3 separate regions of the Homo sapiens genome follow, and regions 1 and 3 are each linked to region 2. The links are contacts of gene promoters, found by promoter capture Hi-C in blood cells and fetal thymus (Javierre and others, 2016). All regions are on one chromosome and are shown on one strand. The core of a region is centred on a gene start or on the middle of the fragment in contact, and the rest is flanking DNA. Distances in the headings are between cores, read along the strand shown. Region 1 holds the start of ADSS1 (adenylosuccinate synthase 1). Region 2 overlaps ASPG (asparaginase). Region 3 holds the start of SIVA1 (SIVA1 apoptosis inducing factor).

Region 1 (3,385 bases), core at 881-3,380, 640 kb before region 2:
CAGGTGGGGACAAAGGGCCAGGCCCTGGGCTATCATGGTGGGCACGTGGCACCAGTGAGGGCTCCAAATGTGGCAGTGACTCATTCCTCCACGCCTGAGCCTCTGTTCCCCTGTGAAGGAGCTCTTCAGGATGATCCTGCCTCACTGGCTCGTGAGGAGGCTGCAGGGGGACAGGTGTGGGCTCCAGGGACAAACCTCTTTTATTCCCACTCACTTGGAGAGCCAGGGGCTCCCTCAGGCTATAGGGTGGCCTGGTGGGGGTGGCCTGGCGGGGGCAGCCTGGTGGCCGGAGTGCGGGATGGGCTCCAGCCTGCTGCATCCTCCGTGCTCCCGTGTGCAGCTGCGAGTGAGCGGGGCTGTGGGGGGACTGGGTGGGGGGCACAGCAGGGAGTGCCCAGATCCAGAACCATCTCCACAGCTGGGAGCGCGGAGCCAGGTGAATGCTGTGTACAGCACCTGTGGGGGCCCCAGCCCGCCCTGCAGAAGTGCATGGCGCCCACCAGAGCTGGCAGCTCATAGGGAGGGGCCTGGGCCTCACGGGAGCAGAGAGGTCTAAGGAGGGTCAGGGGCCGGGGCTGCCCCACGCTGAGGGCGCCCTGGAGGGTGAAGAGCAGTAGAGCGCTGGACATGCCCCCTGGCGGCCCAGGACAAGGTGGCGGGGCAGAGGCAGTGTGGAGGGAGCATGGGCTGAGGACCACCTCTAGGACCTGGGGGATCTCTGGAGCGAGGGATGTGCTTGCCTGCTGCTTAGGACGGAGAGCAAGGGGGGAGGTCCCCCACTGTTCCAGGAAGAACTTTCTAGGAAGCCACAGTCCCTTCCGGCAGGAGGGGCTCGGACAGCCCTGAGCCACACAGGGTGCTGGGCTGACTCCCTTCGTCTTGGGCCCCAGCCCTCCTCTCTGGAGCTCAGGAAGGAGGCCACAGAACCCGGAGAAGGGACGGTGCGGGGGCCCTTGTTCCATTATTGGCAGCAGCCCCAGGCAGGCTCCAAACCCCAGACGCGTGCATCCCAAAGTTGACCCCTTTGTGCCTGGAGCTGTAAGTCAGCCCATGGGCAGCAGACTTGGCTGCCCTGGCATGGGGCATGTAGCCCCAGGGTGGCGGCCCGAGAGAGTGCCCAGTGTGCAGCTCAGTCAGAACAGATGGGGGCGCTGAGAGCAGCTGCCGGCTGGCAGAGGCCCAGCCCTGGGCCCTGGGGGACAAAGCAGGTCTGGCCTCCTCGGTGGCACTGCCAGCCACGGGGTCACCCTGGCCAGAAGTCTGTGGCCCTCCCTCTCCCATGTCTGGCTAGGATCGTCCCAAGCACCCTCCCTCAGGCGCGGCCCCAATTGCCCCCCAGGACGGCCTGGCCCCCTTCCACCTCTGCCTCTCCTTGGCTGACTCACCGGGGTCACCCCCACCCAGCAGGCAGCTTTTACCCCCTCCACCACCTGCAGACCTTGCGGGGAGCCAGGTAAGCCCTATCCCAGACCCAGACAGGCCCCAGGTGATCACTGTAAATGAGGAAGGGGGGTGTCTTGGGGGTCCTCAAACCATCCTGGGGCTGGGTCCTCTGGTTCCCCCATGGAGGGTCCAGCGTCACACCCATGGCATGCGCCACCCCCTAAGGATCGGGTGTCCCCAACTCAGCGACTTGTATTTATAGCTGTGCCCTGGCCCGCTGCCGGGGTGGTGGAGTAGGGGTGGGTGGAAGGAGGGCGGTGTGTGTGGGTCGGGGGTTGTGTGAGTGGTGCGTGTGCGTGCGTGGGTGGGGTGGCCCTGGGAAAGGTGCTCCCGGAAGGAAGGCATCCAAGCGGGTGAGTGACCGGCCAGGGCATGGGAGGACAGGGGCCGTCTGGGTCGGGGGAGGGGGGCTCGCTGGGCGGTGGGGGAGGGACCCGGCGCCCCAGCCCGCACCTGGCAGCGGCTGATGATGTCGGCGTCCGTGGCCAGCAGGTCCACCACCTTGCCTTTGCCCTCGTCCCCCCACTGCGCGCCCAGCACCACCGTCACGCGGGAGCCGGTCGCCGCCGCCTCCTGCTGCAGCCGCCCCCGCTTGACGCCGCCTGCGCCGGGGGGCCGGTCGTTGGAGGCTCGGGTCCCCGACATGCTGGCTTGGCTCTTCCGCTGCGCTGGCCCGGCCAGGAGCCCGCCGCCGCCGGCGTCCGCGCCATTAAATGGAGCCGGGCCGGGGCAGGGGGCGGGGCAGGGGGCGGGCCGGGGGAGGGCCAGGGCGGGCGCAGTGACGCCCCGGTGACCTCCGGCCGCCACATCCCCGCCCCCTCGCCGCTGCCCGGGAAGCCCAGTTGAGTCTCGAGCACTTTAGGGGTGAGGGGCCGCACGGACCAACGGCCAGGCAGGCAGATGGCCTGGGGAGCCGCCCCCACGAATTTGCCAACGGAGGCAGTTTCTCGCTAGCCCGTCGGGGACCAGGGCTTGTGCACCGCGACCTCACCCCCCACCAAGCCCTTGCCGGGCCCAGGACTTCGGGGTTCCAGCAACTGCAGGGGTGGTCGTTCCCTCCAGGGAAGGAGTGCGGTTTGCAAAAGGGGAGCTGCGTCCTGCACCCCACCTAGAGGGTCCGCACTCTCGAGGAGCGCACCTGCCCCCCGTGGAACCCCGAGTGCCCTGGGCGCGGGCGCGCCCCCTGGCGGCCGCGAAGAGCCGCGCAGCGCGTCCTCTCCGAGGACTTTGTGTCCCCGCAACTGCCCGCACTTCTGCCCCACGGCAGGGGCCCCGCGTCCCGCCCGGGCGCGCTGTGGCTCGGGCCTGGCTGTAGCGAGCAGGCGGGCTCCAGCATGGAGCTCCGGCCCTCAGCACCCAAGTCTGGGGTAAAGGGACCCATCCTGTCAGCGTCACCTGGCTGGCATGGGAGCAACCCCCAGGGATGCACGCCACCGTGGGGCCCAGGTTCCCAAGAGGTCCCACACCAGACCTTCCCGGCCCAGCCTGTGGAGGGACTAGGCCCCAGAGGGAGGCGATGGTCTGCGAGGCTCCCGTGTTCCCGGCTGGTTGTCCTGTCTCACCCATCCCGCCCCACCCCTCCCAAGTAGATGAGGCTTGGAGGAAGCCAGCCCTGGTGGCCAAGAGAAGGGTCCTGGGGCCCCAAGGGCGGAAAAGAGAATCAGGTTCTTGCTTCAGAGCAGGGAGGCGGGGTCCTTTGTTCCCTCCCTGACGGCTCTCAGTTGCCAAAGAGCCTGGAGCCACGAGGCCCCTTGGGCTCAGGGCAACTCCAAGGCTAGTGACAGGGAGTCCATGGAGACGGGACACTCCCTGTGAGGAAGGAGTGGAGCTTGGGCCTGTCACAGCAAAGGTCGCTCACACTGAGTTAGTGATTCAGGTGCAGCCAAGGACACCACTGCCCACCCCTGCCTGCAGCCTCCCCACCCCTCCTCTCTTGGCACCT
Region 2 (3,485 bases), core at 195-2,694:
GACTCATGTGGGGGAACAGCTTCCAGAAACTTCCAGGAATGCTGCAGAGTGGTAGGCGTGGATATGGGCCCTGCTGTCCCTGCTGGGGGCATGTGTGGGCACCACAGGCGAAATCAGCCAAAGACAAGACTAAACTCTCTTGGTGTCCTCTTCTCTCAAGCAAAACACTCCATATGTGCTTTTGCAGTGGTTTTTATGGCTCACACCTGTAATCCCAGAATTTTGGGAGGCTGATGCAGGAAGATCATTTGAGCCCAGGAGTTCAAAACCAGCCTGGCCAATTTCTTTCTTTTTTCTTTTTCTTCTCCTTTCTTCCTTTTTTTTTTTTTTTTTTTTTTTTTTTGAGGCAGAGTCTCACTCTGTTGCCCAGGCTGGAGTACAGTGATGCCATCTCGACTCACTGCAACCTCCACCCACCCGGCTCAAGCAATTCTCCTGCCTTAGCCTCCCGAGTAGCCGGGATTACAGGCATGCACCACCACACCTAGCTAATTTTTTATTTTTAGTAGAGACGGGGTTTCGCCATGTTAGCAAGGCAAGTGAACCACCCGCCTTGGCCTCCCAAAGTGTTGGAATTACAGGCCTGAGCCACCATGTCTGGCCAAACGTTCCTTTTTCAAACCTATACTGTCGCCAGTAAAGTTTTCTTACCAACCTGCGAGTGGACCACTTTCCAACTCTGGGGCTCCAGCACTCACCCCGCAGTCAATGTGTTGTACGTCAGCAGCCATTCTAACAGGTATGTAGTGGCATCAGTTTTTTTTGTTTGTTTGAGACAGGGTCTCACTCTGTCACTCAGGCTGGAGTGCAGTGGCGAGATCTCGGCTCACTGCAACCTCCACCTCCTGGGTTCAAGCGATTCTCATGCCTCAGCCTCCCCAGTAGCTGGGACCACAGGCATCTGCCACCACATCTGGCTAATTTTTTTTTTGTATTTTTAGTAGAGACAGGGTTTCACCATGTTGTCCATGGCTGGTCTTGAACTCCCGATCTCAAGTGATCCACCCACCTCAGCCTCCCAAAGTGCTGGGATTACAGGTGTGAGCCACCGCGCCCAGTCAGCTGGGGCAATTTCTTTTGTTATTTTAAATAAACACCAGCTTTCAGCCGGGCACGGTGGCGGGCGCCTGTAGTCCCAGCTACTCGGGAGGCTGAGGCAGGAGAATGGTGTGAACCCGGGAGGCAGAGCTTGCAGTGAGCTGAGATCGCGCCACTGCACTCCAGTCTGGGCGACAGAGTGAGACTCCATCTCAAAAAAATAAAAATAAATAAAAAATAAACAAACACCGGCTTTCACACCTAACTATGATTTTGTAACTTGTATTACTTTTCTCAATGAGGGCCCTCCAAAAGCTTCAAGGGCTGCAGAATCTGAACCCTCCAGCCCTGCCTGGAACCTCTTCCTTGGCCCATCCAGGCAGGTGCCTGAGTTTGCTGGTGACTTGGAAACTCCTCAGCCCCCTGCCAAACACCTGGAAAGGAGGCTTTGCTCTCTAAGACAATGGGCCCCACTGTCACCAGCGAAGTCAAGCTTAGGCTTAGAAACTTGTGAACGTGTAGCACCCATTCAGGAAGGAGGTCCAGGCCAAGGGCACAGACGCCACTGCAGTAACCAAGAAGCCATGGGCATCACTCCACTGACACTCTCGACTGCTGGGACCCGTGTGGTCACCGGGCAGGGAGCTTCTCTCAGCTGCCTGGCCCCAGATCTCTGCCCTCCCTGCTGTGCCTGCAAGGAGCCGGGCTCAGGAGGGACTTTGGGACAGGCCGGCAAGCAGGTGGGGTTCCCAGTTTGACATAGGAAGTCTTCAAGTTTCTCGGGTGTACAGAACGTGGCCACTGATGCCAGCTTGGGCTTGGGGTTATCAGCCGTGTTTGGATTCGCTATGCCCCTTGACCTGTGATAGCTTCAATGAACTCAGAGAAGGGATGGGTCAAGGGGCGTCCCCACTGGCATCACCTCTGCCCTCCCTGAACTCTGGCAGGGCTCCAGGTGTGCAGCGTTCCACCCACAGGTCACTGTTTACCAGCAGGCGCAGAAGCCGTTCCAACAGCGACAATCAAACAGCTTTACTAGGGCAAAGCCACCACTCCCCTCTCACCTCCCCAGGGAAGGCCAGAGCCCACGTCAGCAGTGTGGAGGGAGTAAATCATTGACGCCTGACAGTCTGGCTGCTCCAACCTCACGAGGGGTTGGGGGAGCCCATTCCTGCAGGTTCCTGGAAGTGGATGCCCCACATGGGTCAGCTAGCAACAGCTGGGGGTGACCTCGCAGCCACACGAGGACGGGCTGCTGAGCAGAAGCCAGGACCCCAGTGCACAGAGCACCAAGGGATCTCAGAAGGCTGCTTCAGGTCTGAAGACTGACGCCCCACACCCAATTTCCAGCCTCCAAGTCTCTTGTTTCCCACCCAGACACAGGACCTCACAGCCTCTTTCAGAAATGCGGTGCACGCGTGTGAGTGCACCCACAGGCTGCTGCGGCGAGCACGCGGGGGCCAAGCGAGACGGGTGTGTGGTGGGGTTACAGAGTCCACCTGCCCCTGCAGCTCGGACCACTCAAGAACTACATGTTGAGCTCAACGAAACTGCAGTTGGCCACACTCCAAGCCTGAAGGGGTAGCGTCAGGGGCGTCGGACGAGGCCCCACACAGAGTCCCCAGGTCCTGTCCCCACTCGGGGGCAGCTCTGGCAGGCTCCGGCCCTGCTGGGCTCCCCACTCCTCTTTCCTGCACCTTGCAGGGCTGCTCCTGGCCTGGCCCTCTCCCATCTTTGTCCTGCAGGCCTTGTGTCCTCAGAGAAGCCCTCCCTGGGCTGCCTCCAAACTCCACACCATCCACACACCCAGCTCAGACCCTGTTATCAGCCCACAGCCCCTACAGGGCCCTGGCAGATCCTGCCCCTGGGACTAGCTCCTTAATGCATGCCATCCCTTCAATGGCAGCCTCTCTCTCTAGCTTGTGAGGGCCAAGCACAGGAATTGTGTCACTCTGTGTCAGTGGAGTGTCACACAGGGGCGTTTGCCAAGCTGTGAATGACTTTGTTCCATTCACAGGCAGAAGGAGAAGTGCAGAGGAGGCTCCCGGCAGCCTGGACAGCCACGTTCTTGGGGACCTGAGTCCCTCGTGGACGAGCCCCACTAGGCTTTGTCTCCTGGGCTGGGCGCAGAGTGGGCCTCCAGAGGGGTCTGCACCGGCCACAGTGTGGTGGGTGGAATCTGAGAGCACCGACAGAGTGCTGGTGGCTTCTGAGCAGCCACTTCAGCAGAAAGGGGTGGCCAGGAGGGGCAGCTGCCAGGGAACAGGCCGTGAGAGGGGGTGGGGATAGGAGGGGCGGGGAAGTGGTTGGCAGATGGGCAAGGGACAAGAGAATGTTCTGGTCATGCCAGGGGAGGCCCTGGGCTCTGGCAGAGCCGGAGAGGGTCCCAGCCGTCCCAGGAGAGAGAGCTGCGCTGGACACAAGCAGGAGTGTGGGGAGGGGCCAGG
Region 3 (3,578 bases), core at 102-2,601, 660 kb before region 2:
CCATCTTCCTCTTCTTGCCTGCACAGTGTTTGAATTTTTCAACTGTCCTGAGAGGGCACACGATTGCGGTCCTGCCACAGTTCCCACGGCATCATTCCCCTTACCTCCCCATGGCCCAGAATAGCACTCGCTTTCACAGCCCTAGCACACTGGAGACACCGCACAGAGGAACCTCGGGAGGCAGAGTCTTTCCCTCATTCCCAAGGCACAAGCGGCACCAGGTAAATCACACACCCCGGGTCATCCTCTAACTGCTCTACAGGTGCAGACTTTGTGTCCCAATCACTAGGCAAGGTAAGCTCCACTTTTTACCTGCCCCAGGGTATTAATCACCCCAGTCAGAGTGATGATCAATAAGATCAACACGCCTGAAATCCACAGGAGAAAGCCAGAGAAGGCCTGGGAGCTCACTGCCCTCACATCCCACCCAGAACTGGACACTGCAGCCACACGGAGTCCTATTTCGCTCTCCTGCTGCCTGGCTTCTGCCTCGCCCTCTTCCTTCCCTTCCTCTGCCTGGCTAACTCCTACTCGCCCCCACAGGATTCCGCTCAGACTGTTCTTCCAAGAAGCCTTCCGTGCCATCCCTGCAGGTGCGCCTGCACAAACCTGTGCCTGCCCCGACCACCTGTGGCGACTCCTCCTGCTGGTCTCCCCAACTAGGCTGGGGAGCTCCCGGGAGACGGGGCACATCTGTCTTGCCTGCCTTTGGTCTCCCGAGAAAGCCGCCGTGCCTGGCAGGGCCGCGCGCTCCATGAATACCTCTTGGGACAGGAGGGGCACTCTTCGGGTTGACTCCATGCAGGACGCCCCGCTCCCCAACCTCTCCCAGGACATCCTGCACGGGACAGTCCTGAGAAAGCACCAGGCGGGTGCCGCTCACTGCAGGGCGGCGACTAACCGGGATCGTGGAAGAGGGCGCGGGGGCTAGGGGCAGGGACCCTTTTCTTTCAGGCTGTTGGACAGGGTGGGCGAACGCTGGGGTCCTCACATCCCCCTCACTGACCCCAGCCCTGGGCGTGGCCAGCTTGTGTCCCCGCGGCCTCCCAGCTTCCGGGAACGCGGGGCCAGAAAGCAGGGCCCTCCAGCCCCCCGCTCAGGCCTCAGAGGGGACGCTGAGGCCCGGCCCGTTCCAGGCCCCGACGCAGCGGACCCTCGGCAGCCCGCCCGACACTCACCGAAGACCTCCTGCGAGTAGCGCTCGGCGCACACGCCGCGGCTCAACTCCCTCTGGCTCACGCGGACCTTGAGCTGTAGCGGGGCCACGTCCGCGAAGGGGCAGCTCCGCTTGGGCATGGCCGCGGGGCCGGGAGCTACGCAGCTCCCCGGCCGCCAGCCCCTTACCAACGACGCCGTGACGTCACAGCTGCGCGCCCATCCGCGGGCGAGAGCGGGTTTGAGGAGAGGGAGCGACGCGGCGCGTCATAGGCTGCGGGCGAAGTGGGAGGCGGGACTCCTGCGCGGAGCGGCGCGGGATAGGCCGAGGGAGAGATCGGGGGTGGGACTCGTGCGTCGGTGTACTGGACTCGACGCCGCGGGAAAGGCCAGGGGCCAGGTTGAGGATCAGGGTGGGCGGGTCCGTGGGAGAGATTTGTGCGCGCGCCGCTCAGGATAGGCGGGAGGAGAGACTAGGGGCGGGGTTCCTATGCGGCGCGAAGCGACGAAGGGTGGGAGCCAGGTCGCGGCATTCGGCTGCGCGGGAAGAGCCAGGGGGCGGGGGCGAGGCCGAGGGTCAGGACGGTGCAACGAGGGCGGAGCTTGTGCATCGGGGGCGGGCCTCGTTTGAGGATCGGCGTGGGATAGGCCAGGGCGACGTCGGGGCGGGTCTAGTTTGAGGAGCGGCGCGGGATAGGCCAGGGCAAAGTCTGGGGCGGCTGGGTCGGTGGCGGGATTCCTGTCAGCTTTTGTTTGGTTCCTAAACGGTAGACACTGGTTATAGTTCCTCATTTACTTCTCCGAAGTTAAGAGGCAGCCCGCTTCTTCCTAGCTCTTTTTTCCCCTTTAGAGACAGGGTCTCGCTCTGTCACCCAGACTGAGTGCAGTGGCAGTCTCGGCTCACTGTAGCTTGCGCCTCCCGGGCTCAGGCGATCCTCCCTTCTCGGCCTCCCCGGTAGCTGGGACCGCAGGCGCGCGCCTCCGCGCCCCGCTTTTTGGTTTTGGGTAGGAACGGGGGTTTTTCTGTGTTGCCTCAGCTGGCTTAGCTCCTCACTGTGGCGGTCTCCGCCTTCCAGAAGTAAAGGCGTGTGGGGGCTGCGCTCTGAGGGCCGCGTGCGGCTGCCGAGCGCCCCCGGGCGGGGGTATGCGCCGCTGTGTGGAAAATGTTCTTGCACAGCGGGTTCGTCTGACTTGGTGTCCCCATGCCGCGAGGTGCACCCGCGTCGTCCCTTCTCCGGGGTTCTGCTCACCAGAGGCGGCTCTCCCCTGCCCCGGCGGGTACAGAACCGACCCGTCCTGTGGCGTGGGCTTCGCCCTGTGAGAGATGACAGCGTGCTGGCAGCCCTCGCTCGCTCTCGGCGCCCACTCTGGCCGCGCTCGAGGGGCCCTTCAGCCCGCCGCTGCACTGTGGGAGCCCCTCTCTGGGCTGGCCGCGGCCGGAGCCGGCTCCCTCAGCTTGCAGGGAGGTGTGGAGGGAGAGGTGCGGGCGGGAACCCGGGCTGCACGTGGCGCTTGCGGGTCAGCGTGAGTTCCGGGTGGGCGTGGGCTCGGCGGGCCCCGCAATCGGAGCCACCGGCCCCAGGCAGTGAGGAGCTTAGCACCCGGGCCAGCAGCTGCGGAGGATGCGCCGGGTCCCCCACCAGTGCCGGCCCGCCGGCGCTGCGCTCGAATTCTCACCGGGCCTCAGCTGCCTCCCCGCGAGGCAGGGCTCAGGACCTGCAGCCCGCCATGCCTGAGTCTCCCCCCTGCCGTGGGCTCTTGCGCGGCCCCCTGCTCCGCGGCACCCGGTCCCATCGACCGCCCAAGGGCTGAGGAGTGCGGGCGCACGGCGCGGGACTGGCGGGCAGCTCCACCTGCAGCCCCGGTGTGGGATCCACTAGGTGAAGCCAGCTGGGCTCCTGAGTCTAGCGGCGACTTGGAGAACCTTTATGTCAAGCTAAGGGATTGTAAATACACCAATCAGCACTGTGTTTAGCTCAAGGTTTGTAAACTCACCAATCGGTACCCTGTGTCTAGCTCAAGGTTTGTAGATGCACCCATGGGCACTCTGTATCCAGCTAATCTGGTGGGGATTTGGAGAACCTTTATGTCTAGCTGTGGGATTGTGGACGCACCAGTCAGCACTCTGTGTTTAGCTCAAGGTTTGTAAATGTACCAATCAGCACTCTGTATCTAGCTAATCTGGTGGGGACTTGGAGAACCTTTATGTCTAGCTAAGGGACTGTAAATACACCAATCAGCACTCTGTGTCTAGCTCAAGGTTTGTAAAGACACCAATCAGCACCCTGTATCTAGCTCAAGGTTTGTAAATGCACCAATCAGTGCTCTGTGGGGACTTGGAGAACTTCTGTGTCTAGCTCAGGGATTGTAAACACACCAATCAGCGCCCTGTCAAGACGGACCAATCAGCTTTCTGTAAAACA

The links. The method cuts DNA at HindIII sites, captures the fragments that hold promoters and counts their contacts. A CHiCAGO score of 5 or more calls a contact.
Region 1: the fragment with the promoter of ADSS1 here is called in contact with a fragment that was not itself captured in region 2 in 4 of 17 cell types (naive B cells, M1 macrophages, M0 macrophages and 1 more); the score reaches 9.6 in naive B cells.
Region 3: the fragment with the promoter of SIVA1 here is called in contact with a fragment that was not itself captured in region 2 in 1 of 17 cell types (M1 macrophages); the score reaches 5.2 in M1 macrophages.

What each region holds. Positions count from the first base shown.
Region 1 is chr14:104,722,974-104,726,358 of GRCh38, reverse strand. ADSS1 (adenylosuccinate synthase 1) reads right to left here and starts at 2,130. Exons shown (of 13, transcript NM_152328.5): 1 at 1,897-2,130. The coding sequence starts at 2,088. RefSeq lists an enhancer at 383-1,083 and a silencer at 1,914-2,323. The HindIII fragment of the contact is 19,560 bases long and covers 1-3,385 here.
Region 2 is chr14:104,086,806-104,090,290 of GRCh38, reverse strand. All of the region lies in intron 1 of ASPG (asparaginase), which reads right to left. Among named protein-coding and RNA genes, the nearest start is that of ASPG, 2.8 kb to the right of the region's middle. The HindIII fragment of the contact is 178 bases long and covers 1,356-1,533 here.
Region 3 is chr14:104,750,920-104,754,497 of GRCh38, reverse strand. It overlaps SIVA1 (SIVA1 apoptosis inducing factor), which reads right to left and starts at 1,351. Exons shown (of 4, transcript NM_006427.4): 1 at 1,179-1,351. The coding sequence starts at 1,296. All of the region lies in intron 2 of LOC107987209 (a long non-coding RNA gene), which reads left to right. RefSeq lists enhancers at 1,256-1,325, 1,336-1,385, 1,031-1,532, 2,236-2,325 and a silencer at 1,486-1,855. The HindIII fragment of the contact is 19,431 bases long and covers 1-3,578 here.